Linked DNA regions of Homo sapiens: region 2 is linked to region 1. The links are contacts of gene promoters, found by promoter capture Hi-C in human tissues and cell types (Jung and others, 2019). All regions are on one chromosome and are shown on one strand. The core of a region is centred on a gene start or on the middle of the fragment in contact, and the rest is flanking DNA. Distances in the headings are between cores, read along the strand shown. Region 1 holds the start of EIF3J (eukaryotic translation initiation factor 3 subunit J). Region 2 has its middle 77 kb from the start of TERB2.

Region 1 (7,163 bases), core at 1,220-3,719:
GGATGCGGCCCACCCTCATTATAGAGGGTAATGTACTTTAATCAAAGTCTGCTGATTTAAATGTTAATCACATCTAACAAATACAATTCATAGCAACAACTAGACTAGTGTTTGACCAAAAACTGAGTAACATGGGTAGCATCGCCTAGCCAAGTTGATAGATAAAATTAACCATTAAAGTCACTAAGTTCCATTGACAATGACCTTTAAATATTTCTCAAGTTGGTTTCTTCTTCTCCATTGCCATTGCCTTAATTTAGGCTTGTGTTCTCGTTTAATTAATTCATAAAATACTTACGTATTAGGCATTATGCCAAATGTTGGAGATACAATTGTGAGTAAGATTGTGTCCTTAGGGACTTACATTCCACCCTTTTCCTGACTTCTTTCTTGCCTCCTTCCAATCCACATTTTTTTTTTTTTTTGGTCTTGTCACTTTGATGCCCAGGCTGGAGTGTAGTGGCCAGAACGTGGCTCACTGCAGCCTCAACTGCCTCAGCTTCCTGAGTAGCTGGGACCACAGGACCACAGGTGCACACCACTATGCCTGGATATATATATTTTTTTGTAAAGATGGGGTCTCACCATGTTGGCCAGGTTGGTCTCGAACTCCTGGGCTCAAGCGATCCTCCCGCTTTGGCCTCCCACAGTGCCGGGATTACAGACGTTGAGCCACCGTGTCCGGCCCTGATCCACCTTTATAAATGGCTGTCTGTAGATCATGGCCTCTCACATTTTAACTGGGCTGTAGAATATGTATTGAAGGATCATCTTTATAAAATGTTTATTTGTAGACTCTGAAAAGATAACACCAGAAAGGGGGAACAATGGTTACCACTAGAAAGAACGGAGCGGAGCAGCTGATCGTTGTATCTACCTTTTTTGTTTTTTTTTTTTTTTTGAGACGGGTCTAACTGTCGCCCAGGCTGGAGAGCCGTGGCGCGATCTCGGCTCACTGTTGCAACCTCCGCCTCCCGGGTTCAAGCGATTCTCCTGCCTCAGCCTCCCTAGTAGTGGGGATTACAGGCGCCCGCCACCACGCCCAGGTGATTTTTGTATTTTTAGTAGAGGTGGGGTTTTACCATGTTGGCCAGGCTGGTCTCGAACTCCTGACAGCAAATGATCCGCCCATCTCGGCCTCCCAAAATGCTGGGATTACAGGCGTGAGCCACCGCGTCCTGCCCACGTATCTACCTTTTTATCACATGAATGTTGTACCAAGTTCGCGTATTACATATTTGAAAATAAATTGCGAAAATAACAAAAACAAAATCCATCTACTGGCTAGCTCTTTAAAATCCTGCGGGGGAGCCCAGTGGCCCAACGGCGAAGTTTAGCCCATCTTGCCCTTTCTGGTCAGTGTACCTGTTCCATTTATCTCTGACTGCGCCACTCAGTCAGGTGAGGGACCACTGGAGTTTTCTACCGGAAATGCACTTCAGCAAATGCCACTTGCTCTCTCCAACTTCAGTTTCAACCAGCGCCTACCTCAGGAAGCCTTCCTTCATCCTCCGGCCCCCGCCGCCGCTAAGGTTATCCTTTTACATTCAACCTCATAATGCTGCTTTTTGTGGCAGTCATCACAGTGTCGAAATTTGTTTACATGTCCATCTTTGCTACTTGATGGAGGGCAAAGATACACCTCATACCTAGCATAGACCCCAGGAGGTCCGAAATTGTTCTGCGAAAGAAAAAAAAATCAATGTGCTGGCCTCAAAGGGGCTCACAGGAAGGGAAAAGCCTCGAAGACTAAGGCTCTCTTCGATTCCTTCGTGACTAACTCGAGGCAAACATGCCAGGAACGCGGCTCTCCCCACCCGCTCCTGCATCTGCGCCCGGGGATCGCCGGATTCCAGAGGGGTCCCCTCCACCTAGCGCGCGACGACTCCCTCTGGGGTCCCGGAAGCCCGGCCACCGACCCCACAGGCGGGCGTGGCCTCAGAGCCCTCTTCTGAGCACGGCGTGGGTATCCGCAGGCGGCCATGGACGGTGATCACAGTGACCAGAGGGACAGCGCACCCTCCGGTCGAAGCGGGGTAGGCGTTGGCAGGGGAGGGGCGACGAAGACTGGCGAGGTTCAGGCGCCAGCCAAAGAACCACTCTGCTAACTTCCTGGCACTTACGTTTCCTACCCGGGGCCCAGAGTCGGGCGGCGGTCTTCCAGCACCACGAACTCCAGTACTGGTCTGCGTTGTAGGGAGCTGGAAGCCCGACCCAGCACTCCTCAGCCCCCTGTGCCCCTCCCTCTGCTCTTTCCGCCCCTCCCTCCGCCCCCCTCCGCCCCCCCCTCCGCCTCTCCCTCAGCCCCGCAGCGCCACCGACCGCGTTCCCCGCCCACTTCTTACCCGCGCGCGTCGCCGCCGCCGCCTGAGGGGGCGTGGCCTCGGCTCGGCGCACAGTCAGCCACGGTCCCATCCTGCTCCGCGCCGGTCAACGAGAGCAAACCCAGTGACTCACCTCCGCCGTGCTAACTCCTCGCTAGCTCTCCCTCTCACACACGCTCACACCCGGCTCGAGATGGCGGCGGCGGCGGCGGCGGCGGGGGACTCGGACTCCTGGGGTGAGGAGAAGTTGCTGGGGCAGGGCCCGGGCCGGCGCCGGCCCCACGCAGTGGCAGGCACTAACACGGCTCGCTTTCTTCCGTAGACGCCGACGCTTTCTCCGTGGAAGACCCAGTGCGGAAGGTGGGGGGCGGCGGCACTGCCGGCGGGGACCGCTGGGAAGGCGAGGACGAGGACGAGGACGTCAAGGTGGGTGCGGGCTAGGGCGCCGGGCAGCGCGGAAGCGGGCTGGCGCTGTTGCCGGCCGACTCTGGGCCCCGGGTCGCTGCCGGGGCCTGCGGGCCGTGGGTCCAGGCGCGAGCATAGGGCCTGGCGGTGCTCTCTTCCCCTCCGCTTGCCGGCCATGTGTGGGCCGAAGACTGGCAGCGTGGCCTCCCGGACTCCCTCGCCGGTTGAGAGTCTGCTCTCCGGCGTGGATCCCACCCGCCGGCTGGCGACGAAAGGTGACAGCATCGGCCGGGTCGGCCCACGTGCAAGCTTCGCGGTCCGGAGCCTCTCGCAGGAATGAGACCGGGAAGTTGGGAATTGAGCCTTGTAGCTTATCCATATGGAAAGCCTTGAGACTCGCCTGTCTTTTCGAGCTCAAGTCAGCCCAGGGCCAGTAACTCATTTATGACCCTGAGGTCTACTTATACAGTTTGTTCGAGGGATTAGATGAGTGAAATATTGTAGTTGAATTTCAACCTTTTTTTCCCACACGAGACAGCTAGAAACAGTAAAGGGAAATAACTTTTGGCTCTCCCTTCCCCCACCCTGTGGTAAAAAGAATGAACTGACCACTGAGATAGCCCGCAGTTAGTGGACAGAAACCCAGGTAGTTCACACCGTGACCTGAGAAATGGAGAGACGACAGTTACTCAACTACACACATACGACACCTAAGGAAATATTGAAGATTTGGTGGTGGTTGTAGATGACGGGCCCGTGGTTTTTTGTTGTTGTTGTTGTTTTGTCTGTGCCTTGTAGATAATCATTTTTACCTCAGTCGTTTGATTTTGAAAACTCCGAAGGGTTCATTATACAGCTGTAAGTGACATTTACTTCTACATGGTTTTTTTTTTTTTTTACAGTAGTTACAGAAGTCTCAAATCCAAAATGTTAAGACTCTTATTAACAAAGTTCTCAAAATCTTGTTATATTTGTGCAGATAAAGTTTTGTGTGAAATGGAAAATGATTTTTTTTTGTGGTTTTGCCTAATTTAGTGAATTTCTCCTAATTTATAAACACAAACGGAGAACCCTATAAATCCTGCCTGGGCTGAAAAGTTTAAGCTAGATAATCACTATGAACTTAATAGGAATGTTGTTTTGAGTTTTTCTGTTCTCTCCCCAGTCCGATGAGGTTGGATGTGTGGATGTCCGATTTACTGACAGCCTGAGGTTCAAGAATGTTGTGAGCTTTGCACACATTGAAGTTAATAAATCGACTGGTTATTGTTTGAAGACACTCAGATGCTTTATTTACATGTTGTAGAAACATGGGACTAGATTTTGTTACCAGCCGCATTACAAGATATTAGTTACCCCTCTACATTGTAGCAGATTTTCAGTTTTGAGCCTTGGGTTCATATTGGTCCTTTCATTTTTTTCCATGCATATAGGAAGTGGCAGTTAAGACATCTGTTATGAAATTTGGGAATAAATTAACAAATGCAGAGAAAAGATTAGAGATATTAGGAAAGAAGTTGCAGAAAATGAAGTTTTAATGGATAGTCTAGACTAATGTCATGGAATAACTTCCTTGGGATTAAGGGATCTAAATGGTATCGATCTTGATGAATATAATTCTTTTTTTTTTTTTTTTTGAGATGGAGTTTCGCTCTTGTTGCCCAGGCTGGAGTGCAATGGCGCGATCTTGGCTCACTGCAACCTCCACCTCCTGGGTTCAAGTGATTCTCCTGCTTCAGCCTCCCAAGTAGCTGGGATTACAGGCACGCACCACCACGCCTGGCTAATTTTGTATTTTTAGTAGAGACGGGGTTTCGCCATGTTGCCCAGGCTGGTCTTGAACTTCTGACCTCAGGTGATTCTCCTGCCTTAGCCTCCCAAAGTGCTGGAATTATAGGCGTGAGCTACCGTACCCAGCCTCTGATGAATATAATTCTGATCACTTGGAACAAGTTTTGGATATTTACAAGTTGTAAGGGACCACAAAGATTATCTTGTCCAGTTGCTCTTTTTTTTTTGGAAATGGAGTCTCGCTCTGTCACCCAGGCTGGAGTGCAGTGGCACAATCTCCGCTCACTGCAAGCTCCGCCTCCCAGGTTCACTCCATTCTCCTGCCTCAGCCTCCCGAGGACTACAGGTGCCCACCACCACGCCCGGCTAATTTTTTCTATTTTTAGTAGAGACGGGGTTTCACCGTGTTAGCCAGGATGGTCTCAATCTCCTGACCTTGTGATCTGCCCGCCTTGGCCTCCCAAAGTGCTGGGATTACAGGCGTGAGCCACCACACCCGGCCCCAGTTGCTGTTTTAGTGCTAAATTTCTTTTTCTTTTTTTTTTTTTTTTTTAACTTAAAGCAATCTATCTATTCATCTAATTTTTTGAGAGAAGGTCTCACCCCGTTTCCCAGGCTGGAGTGCAGTGGCACGATCTCTGCAACCTCCGCCTCCCGGATTCAAGTGATTCTCCAGCCTCAGCCTTTCTAGTAGCTGGGATTACAGGTGTGCACCGCCGTGCCCAGCTAATTTACATATTTTTTTCTTTTTTTTTTTTTTGAGATAGAGTCTTGCTCTGTCACCCAGGCTGGAGTGCCGTGGCACGATCTTGGCTCACTGCAACCTCCGCCTCCCAGGTTCAAGCAGTTCTCTGCCTCAGCCTCCCGAGTAGCTGGGATTACAAGCGCCCACCACCACACCCAGCTAATTTTTGTATTTTTAGTAGAGACGGGGTTTCACCATCTTGGCCAGGCCGGTCTTGAACTCCTGACTTCGTGATCCACCCGCCTCGGCCTCCCAAAGTGCTGGGATTACAGACGTGAGCCACCGCGCCTGGCTATATATATATATATATATATATATATATATATTTTTTTTTTTTTTTTGTAGATACAGGGTTTCGCCATGTTACCTAGGCTGGTCTCAAACTCCTGAGGTCAAAGTGATCTTCCCGCCTCGGCCTCCCAGAGTGCTGGGATTACAGATGTGAGCCACTGCACCTGACCTATTTATTTTGAGACGGATTTGTGAGACTGGCTAATTTTTGTGTTTTTGGTAGAGGTGGAGTTTCGCCAAGTTGCCCAGGCTGGTCTCAAACTCCTGAGGTTAAAGCGATCTTCCCGCCTTGGCCTCCCAGAGTGCTGAGATTACAGGTGTGAGCCACTGCACCTGGCCTATTTATTTTGAGACAGATTTGTGAGACTGGCTAATTTTTGTGTTTTTGGTAGAGATAGAGTTTCGCCAAGTTGCCCAGGCTGGTCTCGAACTCTTGGAGTCAAGTGATCTATCCTCCTCAGCCTCCTAAAATGCTGGGATTATGGGCGTGAGCCAGCAGACTCAGCCATATCACCAAATTTCTGAATTCTTATGTTTTTGTACTTTTTATGAGGAGTTGCAGACAAGGCTTAGTTTCCGTGAGGTCTTCTGTTCATGTCAGCATCTAGTACTTAACCTTTAAAAATACAGGTTTAATGTCATTTGTAATGTCCTGGGAAATGAAAGGAAAACTGATGTTTTTGTTATTATAATTTGCTCCAGCACTTTACTCTCATTTAGTAGACTTAGTATTTTGCTGTCCTTGACTTTTCAAATAGCTGTCTGGCAGTGGCAGAAGTGGACTTAGGTGAAACTGTACAACCGTTAATATATATGGCAAGAAAAGACTATGCTTTTCCCCAGTTAAAAAGATGAGAACTCGGGAGCATAGTTTCCCATCACCCTGGCTTTATTTACCTTTTTTACTATCCTGATAGTTGTGCAGAGGTAGTGGGAAGAATTGTTCACTTGGCATATATGACTCCTTCCTCATTGCTGGTATGATATGTAGGATGTGTTGACTGAGAAGGCAGTGAGTACCTACTGGACACAAGGACAACATAACTTTTGCTCCATTTTACTAGTCTCCTAGCATTTCAGTAGAACAGTTTAGAAGCTAGATTTATTCAAAGGGTACAGAGTTTGCAGAAACTTATAGCTGTGTTCAGCCATCTCACGCATTTGCCTCTGTAACCATATAGCATTTCTTTTAAAAGATCCTGAAGAGGCTGAGGCAAGAGGATTGCGTGAGCCTAGGAGTTTGAAGCCAGCCTGGGCAACATAGCAAGACCCCAACACATTTAAAGAGAGAGCGATCCTGAAGAACAGATTTAGTTGAGCCTCTCTCGTCCTACTCATTCACTCTCTGTTAGGATCCTATTCCAATAAATAGTTTGAATCTACCAGATAGGGACAATTTTCAGGGGTTGGAAACAACTTCTAAAGAACAGGATCTGTATTTTACAGAATGTGAAATTACTAGGAAATACCCAGAAGGTGGGCATTTTGCCAGAAAATGGGTATTTTGAAGAGAGTGTGTGTATGTGTAACTTAAGAAAAATTCCAAACATGCAGTAGAGAGAAACATTTAATAAACCAGTGACCAGTCTTGTCTCCTCTGTATCCCC
Region 2 (6,931 bases), core at 2,178-4,677, 340 kb after region 1:
AGCTGGCTCCACCTCTCACCAGCACTTTGGGAGGCCAAGGCAGGCATATCACCTGAGGTCAGGATTTTGAGACCAGCCTTGCCAACGTGGCAAAGCCCTGTCTCTACTAAAAATACAAAAATTAGCCGGGCATGGTGGTGGGCACCTGTAATCCCAGCTACTTGGGAGGCTGAGGCATGAGAATCTCTTGAACCCAGAAGGCAGAGGTTGCAGTAAGCCAATATCATGCCACCGCACTCCAGCCTGGGTAACAGAGTGAGACTCTGTCTCAAAAAAACAGAAAACAAAAAAACTAAGTTCCCCACAAAGTTATTTCAGACTTTGCCCAGGAATGAACAAGGACAGCTTGGAGGTTAGAAGCAAGACGGACTTGGTTAGGTTGGATCTCTTTTACTGTCTCAGTTATGTTTTTGCAATGGCGTTTTCAATCCCTTCCTTTGGGTTTTATAACACCTTAATCTTAAGGTGTTGGCTAATGAAGATGGAGAAAGGGCAAAGACCACTCTAACTTCTTCCTGCTGACCAGGGGCATAGTCGGGGTAGGTGTTGACCCCAAGGTGAGAGGACTGGAATCATTTTGCTACTGTCTGAACATACTCACGCAGGATGGCTGAAAAATGTGTTAGTATTGTCATCTATAATTTTAGTATTGCATTTAAGGGAACAGCACACTACAAAGTAAATAATGAGTTCTAGCATAAGGCATGCAATTCCAACTTTTAAAAGTAAAGATTTGAAAACATTAATTTGGAGACTTGTAGTCCATGAATAATTTAGGATTTAGTCCAAACTGCAGAAAAAACTCAAGAACAACTAACAATGATTGTTTTTTATTTTTGGAGCATAATTTTTCTGTCTCCAGTCCCCATTTTTTAATTAAAAATAAATCACAGTAGGTCAACTTTACTTGCAAAATAAGTTTTAGTCTTATTATGCTCTGCCTGATTACTTGCATAAGTGCAGCAACAATAATTATTGTTCACATAGGCTTTTTAAATTGGCTTTGATGGAACTCTGTTCCATAAGGAATCTCAAACAAGACTTTTTTAAAGCCAGGCCAAGCCCATGGGTTTGTACCCTCAAATAACCATGAGTTGGGTCAATTCCTCTCCTCTTGAGGTCCCAAGATAACTTGGGGCTCCTGGGCCTGTTAGAAAGTGACATTCTTTACTCACCACAGATCAGGAACCCTGTACAGGGACTGTGTAGACAAGGCATGAGGCCAGTTTTCCCAAGGGGCTTTGTTTTCTCTGTTTTGTTTTGTTTTTGAGACAGGATCTTGCTCTGTCACCCAGACTGGAGTGCAGTGATGCAATCTCTGCTCACTGCAACTCCATCCCCCAGGCTCAAGCAATCCTCCCACCTCAGCCTCCCAAGTCGCTGGAACTACAGGCATGTGCCACCACACCCAGATAATTTTTGTATTTTAAGTAGAGACGGGGTTTCACCAAGTTGCCCAGGTTGGTCTTGAGCTCCTGAGCTCAAGCTATCTGCCTGCCCCGGTCTCCTAAAGTGCTGGGATTGCAGGCATGAGCCACCATGCCTGGCCTCAAGAGGCTTTTATTCCTTAAAGGCAAGCATACGATTCCAGTCAAAGCCTTGGTAAAATAACCAGTTTCTTCAATTTTGTCCTGTTGCAAATGAAAACATTCTTATTGCACTTATGGAAGTAACTATATTGCCATAAGAATACTCACAAATAGTTACCAAATCCTGGCAAAATCAGGAAGAGAGAATCAAATATGCTCCAAATTTTGTTTACAGATGTGTACTTTACTCAATATTAAAAGCTGTAAATAGCTCAAAAGAAAGGTTTTCTTGGCTCTGAAAAACAAAAAATGATCAGCAATGTTTTAAACAAAAAGTCAAAAAAAGTTGCCTCAGTCTTCTATTAGTTCAGCCCATGCAGTTAACTTCCATTCTGCTTAGTATTCATGAACATTTCAGCTCTCAATGAGAGTCCTGAAAGTTTTTCCTCTATTCTAATGTCACAATCTCCAAAGTTTTCAGAAACCTGCATTTAAGAGCACCTGTCAGAGTGTTATAGCTGATTATAAAACCATTTAAAGAGGATCAAAAGACAATAATTGTCTGTGGATGACAAAAAGTTTTAGGCCAGCCACAGTTAAAGACACAATTGACAAGGAAATTTGTTACTTCTGGGGAACACAATAATTTAACATAGCAATTATAATTATTAATGATAACATATACAAAGTCATATCAGAATTACAGGAGTTTCACATAATTTTGGAACATATATCAATAACACAAAAATCTTTTTCAAAAGAGAAAACCAAATTTCATGTTTGCATTAATGCCTCTTTAATGCTAAAGCTAGTTTTTAAATAAAATGTTATAAATTATCCAGTTTTAATTAGTTTGACCATAAGGTAAGGTTTTTATAAACTTTTTTAGAACACTTTACAATTTTCCATTAAACAGCAGATTAATTTTCTAAGAAAACCCTTTTGTTTAGACACAGGGGCCCAGATTCTGGCCCGGCATTAGTGTGCTTTTATGTTCAACATACAGAAAAAAATTAAATAATCCCCTTCAAAACTTAAGACCAACCCTTCACAAACACTTTTCAACTTGCTTAAACCTTCAGTTTTGTCCTGTTACTCTTTTAGGTTAAGACGATCTTTAAAGCCCTCTGAACTAGACAAAATTACATTCCCTTTGACAAAAGCCATATTCCCTTACCTTATTTAATCCTTTAGCTAAAGCACATTCTACTTTCCTTACACATCTTGCATGTAAAACAATTTCTCCAGCAGTCTCAATTACACGTTACAACGTTAACACTTAGCAACTTTTGTTTTTGATGAAAACCCTGATAAATAAGTGGTTTTAATTATGTACTAAGTGTGGAGCCTAGGACATCAGACAGAAATGCAGATAAGGTCTGCCTCCAGCATAGCTAGGGGGCATGGCTAATTCCACATGTCCCCAGACCTTAGCTAGAATTTCTAATGGCTCCAAAGTAGGTAAGTCTAACAATTTTCGAAAGTCAAAGAAACAGTTTATGACTTTAAAGCATTTAGCAAACCTAACATCTGACCTTATTTAGACCAAACATCTAAATTGTGAAGACATTTTTTATTTACCAGTGATCTTTAAAACTGTTTTTATTTCCAAAAGATCACTGAAATTATGTGAACAAACAGGCATTAAAAAGTTTCTATTTTTCTGACAAAATACTTGATTTAAGTGCTTATTTTTCTAAGCCAATTAGAGCTCTTTTATACAAACATCATGCATACAACACATATACATAGACAGACAGACAGAAGATCTGGTACTTGTAAGATTTTTCATTTGCTAGTTTCTTAATTGGATTACTGGCTTCAAGGTGACACCCTTGGAGGAACAGCACCAGGAAAGCATGGCATTTCTAGGGCCCAATAAGAAGGCATAGCTAGAAGGCAAAAACATATCCCCAAAATTAAGGGTGCCATTTGTATACTGCATCCTGGATCCCCCCAAAAGAGGGAAATACTATGGGAGAAGATAGTGCAATACTTCTACCATGCATGTCATTGCAAAGCAACCCAAAGCCAATTAGCCCATTTTGAAATCAGCCCATCCTCCATGGGAGTCTCCTCTCAGTTCGGGGTGGGGATATTTCCATACCTTCCAGGTGGCCAAGAGCATGCTTCTCTAATCCAAAAATCCAAGAGCCAAGTATCCCTCTTAACTGCTATTAGTTATCCCTTAAAGTATATTTCCTACCTGGTTATTACACACCAAGACTAAAAGCTCTCAAATAATGCAAAGTAATTTTTGATACCTGCCAAAGTAAAAAATGTCAGGTAATGTAATATAAAACAGAATACAGCCTTAGATTTTGAGAGGGATCTATTCTCTTTCAATTCCTAGGGTTCCATGAGAAAAACAGAGCTTTTTCCCAGAATGGGGTCTGTGGCACCTCCTCTGTTTTTCCCTAAGAGTCCCAGGCTGTTAGAATTTATCTTAGGTTCTTTCATGTGGGCATCAAGAGTGTTGAGAAGACAAAAGTGGAGAAAAACAATTCAGTCAACTGAGAAGAAAAAACCTTTTTTTTCTTTAGAAAAATAAGATCCAAGAAGAGAAAAAAAAGTAAAGGTATTTTAAATATATGTACAGTTTGGATATCTGCTTTTAATGAAGCTGATTTTAACCATACAGCTCTTTAAAAAATTATTTTTTAAATATCTAATTACTAGACTCTAGCCAGCACAGACAGTCAATGTTCCTTGCTTTTGAACTTCACCACAGGTAACTTCCCATGTGAAATTAATGTTTTAAATAAGGTTATAATGGATACACATGGTGATTCAAAGAGAGAGTAATCAGTTTCTTTCTTTTTTTTTTTTTTTAACAAGATTTAGAATCTTCCCAAGGTAGTTCAAAGGAAAACTCAAGAGGAGAAATCAAAAGTGGTCCATGGGGGAAAAAGAATCAATAAGGGTCAAAAAGTTACACAAATAAACCAGAAAAGACTCATTCCCTAAGCCAAGAATTGAACCTGGGATGCCATTGTCAAAAGACAAGGCCTTAGCTACTGAGTTACAGCATTGAGCAATTTCTATTGCTCTTCCTAGAAGAAGCCTAGAGCAGCCAATTTTGAGCTTGCAAAGGCTTTTAACTGCTCAAGATAACTTTTAGGGTTAACTATGACATGAATCCCCAAATTCCTGTCCTCTGGGTGGCAGAGACCAAGAGAAAGTATCCCCACATGGTCACAAGATTGGGCTCTTAAGGACACAAAACAAACAGATAAATTTCATCTAGTATTGGTTTCAGGGACACACAGCAAAGTTTGTAACTGAGCAGCCTGCCAGGATGGCTTGAAAAGTGGGCTTACAGGAGTCTTAAACCCACATTCTATTCTGTGATTCCCTTCTCTCCATTACAGAAGAACACAGAAAGACAAATTCTTAGCACAAAGTACACCAGATTTGCTACCACCTAAGACTAGTCTCACAAATGCTTTCTTCTACTAATCAAACCCTTGCAGAGGAGACAAACAGTGATGTTTATCATTTATACAAATACACACACACACATACACACACAGAGAGAGAGAGAGGAGAGAGAGAGACAGAGACCAGAAACTCGGCTGGTGAGAAATTCTTACCCTTTTTACCAGCATACCAGATTTCTGTGTTCCCTTTCTCTGAAGCTTCCAGAAGAATGGAGCAGCTTTTGATGAATCTGCTTACTGTGCCATAGCTGTGGGGGCCAAGCCCTGTTACAAAAGAAAATCATCCATTTCTGTTTTATGGAACCGTAGGCAAAAGCTTCTCACTTTTGCAAGATGCTGCCTGACGGGTTGCATGGGGAACTGAATTAATATTTTCCATCCCAGCCGAAGCAAAATACACATAACTAAACAGACACTAGTCACCTCGTTCAGCACCCAATATTGACCTGGCAAGGCTCAAATTTTCTCATGTTGGTTCCTATAGTCTTTGATCCACTCCAAGTGGAGAGGGATGACTTCCAACCGGTAATTAAATGGGTGGTCTCTGGGCAAGATGAAGAGTGGACAGTCACCCCATGTCAGGCCTGTTGAGCTTTCTTCAGGGCTCACCAGATGTAACCTGACTTACGGAGGGTTCTCTGAGTTAGGCCTGCTGGACTTCCATCAGCAATTCCCTCAGAGATCCCCTCAACATATACAAACACACACACAACAAAGACAAGACAGACAGAAGGCCTTTGAGACACAGATTCCAGACCCAGTCACAAACCAAGAGTATTCCTCCAAACAAGTCCCCCTATTCTCCATCCAATTAGATACCCCACCAGTAGACATCTCGTGATGGGGCTAAAAACAGACACACCATGATGGGGCTACAGACAGACATCCTGCAAGGCAACCAAGAGACAGCAGCACGTCCAGAGAGGCTGACAAATAGGAGAAGGAAGGGGCTGTTGGCAGCACCTAGAATACTCACCAAATCAGATACCCCATAATGGGGCTACAGCTACAGACACTACGTGATGGGCTACAGACAGACACCCAGTGATAGGGCTAGAGTCTCAGACATCCAGTGGTGGAGCTGGAGACAGACACCCCACCATGGGGCTACAGACAAACATTCCAGCATGGAGCTACAGTTATGGGATATCTCCCAGGACTATTTCTGTATTGCAATTAAATCCATGCCCATTGGATCAGCAGCACCCCACCAGTAGAGCCTAGAGTCCAAGAGAACTAGGTGGCCACTTGGGCTGGCCTCTGGATCTGTTGCTGGAGGGAGTCTACCAAACCACGGGCAGGCAGCCACAAGGGCAAGCCCCAGCAAGCCCCAAATTTGTAACTGCCCATGGGTTCACCTTGTCTGCTGCCTAGACAAAGTTAATTTATCCAGACAGGGGAACTGCAGTAAAGAAAGTAACTCATGCAGAGCCAGCTTTGCGGGAGACTGGAGTTTTATTATTACTCAAATCAGTCTCCCCAAGCATTCAAGCATACAGAGATCGGCGTTTTTAATGATAATTTGGAGGGTGGGGGAAAACCAGTGAGTCAGGAGTGCTGACTAGTTGGGTCGGAGGTGAGATCATAAGGGGTCAAAGCTGTCTTCTTGGGCTGAGTCAGTTCCTGGGTAGGGGCCCCAAAATCAGATGAGCCAGTTTATCAATCTGGGTGGTGCCAGCTGATCCATCAAGTGCAGGGTCTGCAAAATATCTAAAGCACTAACATTTCATTTTATAATAGTGATGTTATCCCCAGGAGCAATTTGGGGAGGGTCAGAATCCTGTAGTCTCCAGCTGCGTGACTCCTAAACCATAATTTCTACTCTTGTGGCTAATTCATTACTCCTACAAAGGCAGTCTAGTCCCCAGGCAAGAAGGAGGTTTGTTTTGGAGAAGGGCTGTTATCTCTGTTTTAATCTATAAATTAAAAACTAAGATCTCCCTGAAGTTGGTTCAGACCATG

What was found. Contacts are between HindIII fragments. The study calls those that stand out against the background at their distance.
Region 2: a contact is called between a fragment that was not itself captured here and the fragment with the promoter of EIF3J in region 1, in 1 of the 25 tissues and cell types used here (lymphoblastoid cells).

The regions. Positions count from the first base shown.
Region 1 is chr15:44,534,678-44,541,840 of GRCh38, forward strand. It overlaps EIF3J (eukaryotic translation initiation factor 3 subunit J), which reads left to right and starts at 2,470. Exons shown (of 8, transcript NM_003758.4): 1 at 2,470-2,560; 2 at 2,647-2,750. The coding sequence starts at 2,518. EIF3J-DT (EIF3J divergent transcript) reads right to left here and starts at 2,246. Exons shown (of 2, transcript NR_034170.1): 1 at 1,366-2,246; 2 at 1-797. RefSeq lists enhancers at 1,138-1,925, 1,613-2,062 and silencers at 2,233-2,402, 2,593-2,902, 2,923-2,972. The HindIII fragment of the contact is 9,957 bases long and covers 1-5,244 here.
Region 2 is chr15:44,876,373-44,883,303 of GRCh38, forward strand. It overlaps the pseudogene SORD2P. Among named protein-coding and RNA genes, the nearest start is that of TERB2, 77 kb to the right of the region's middle. The HindIII fragment of the contact is 3,597 bases long and covers 1,630-5,226 here.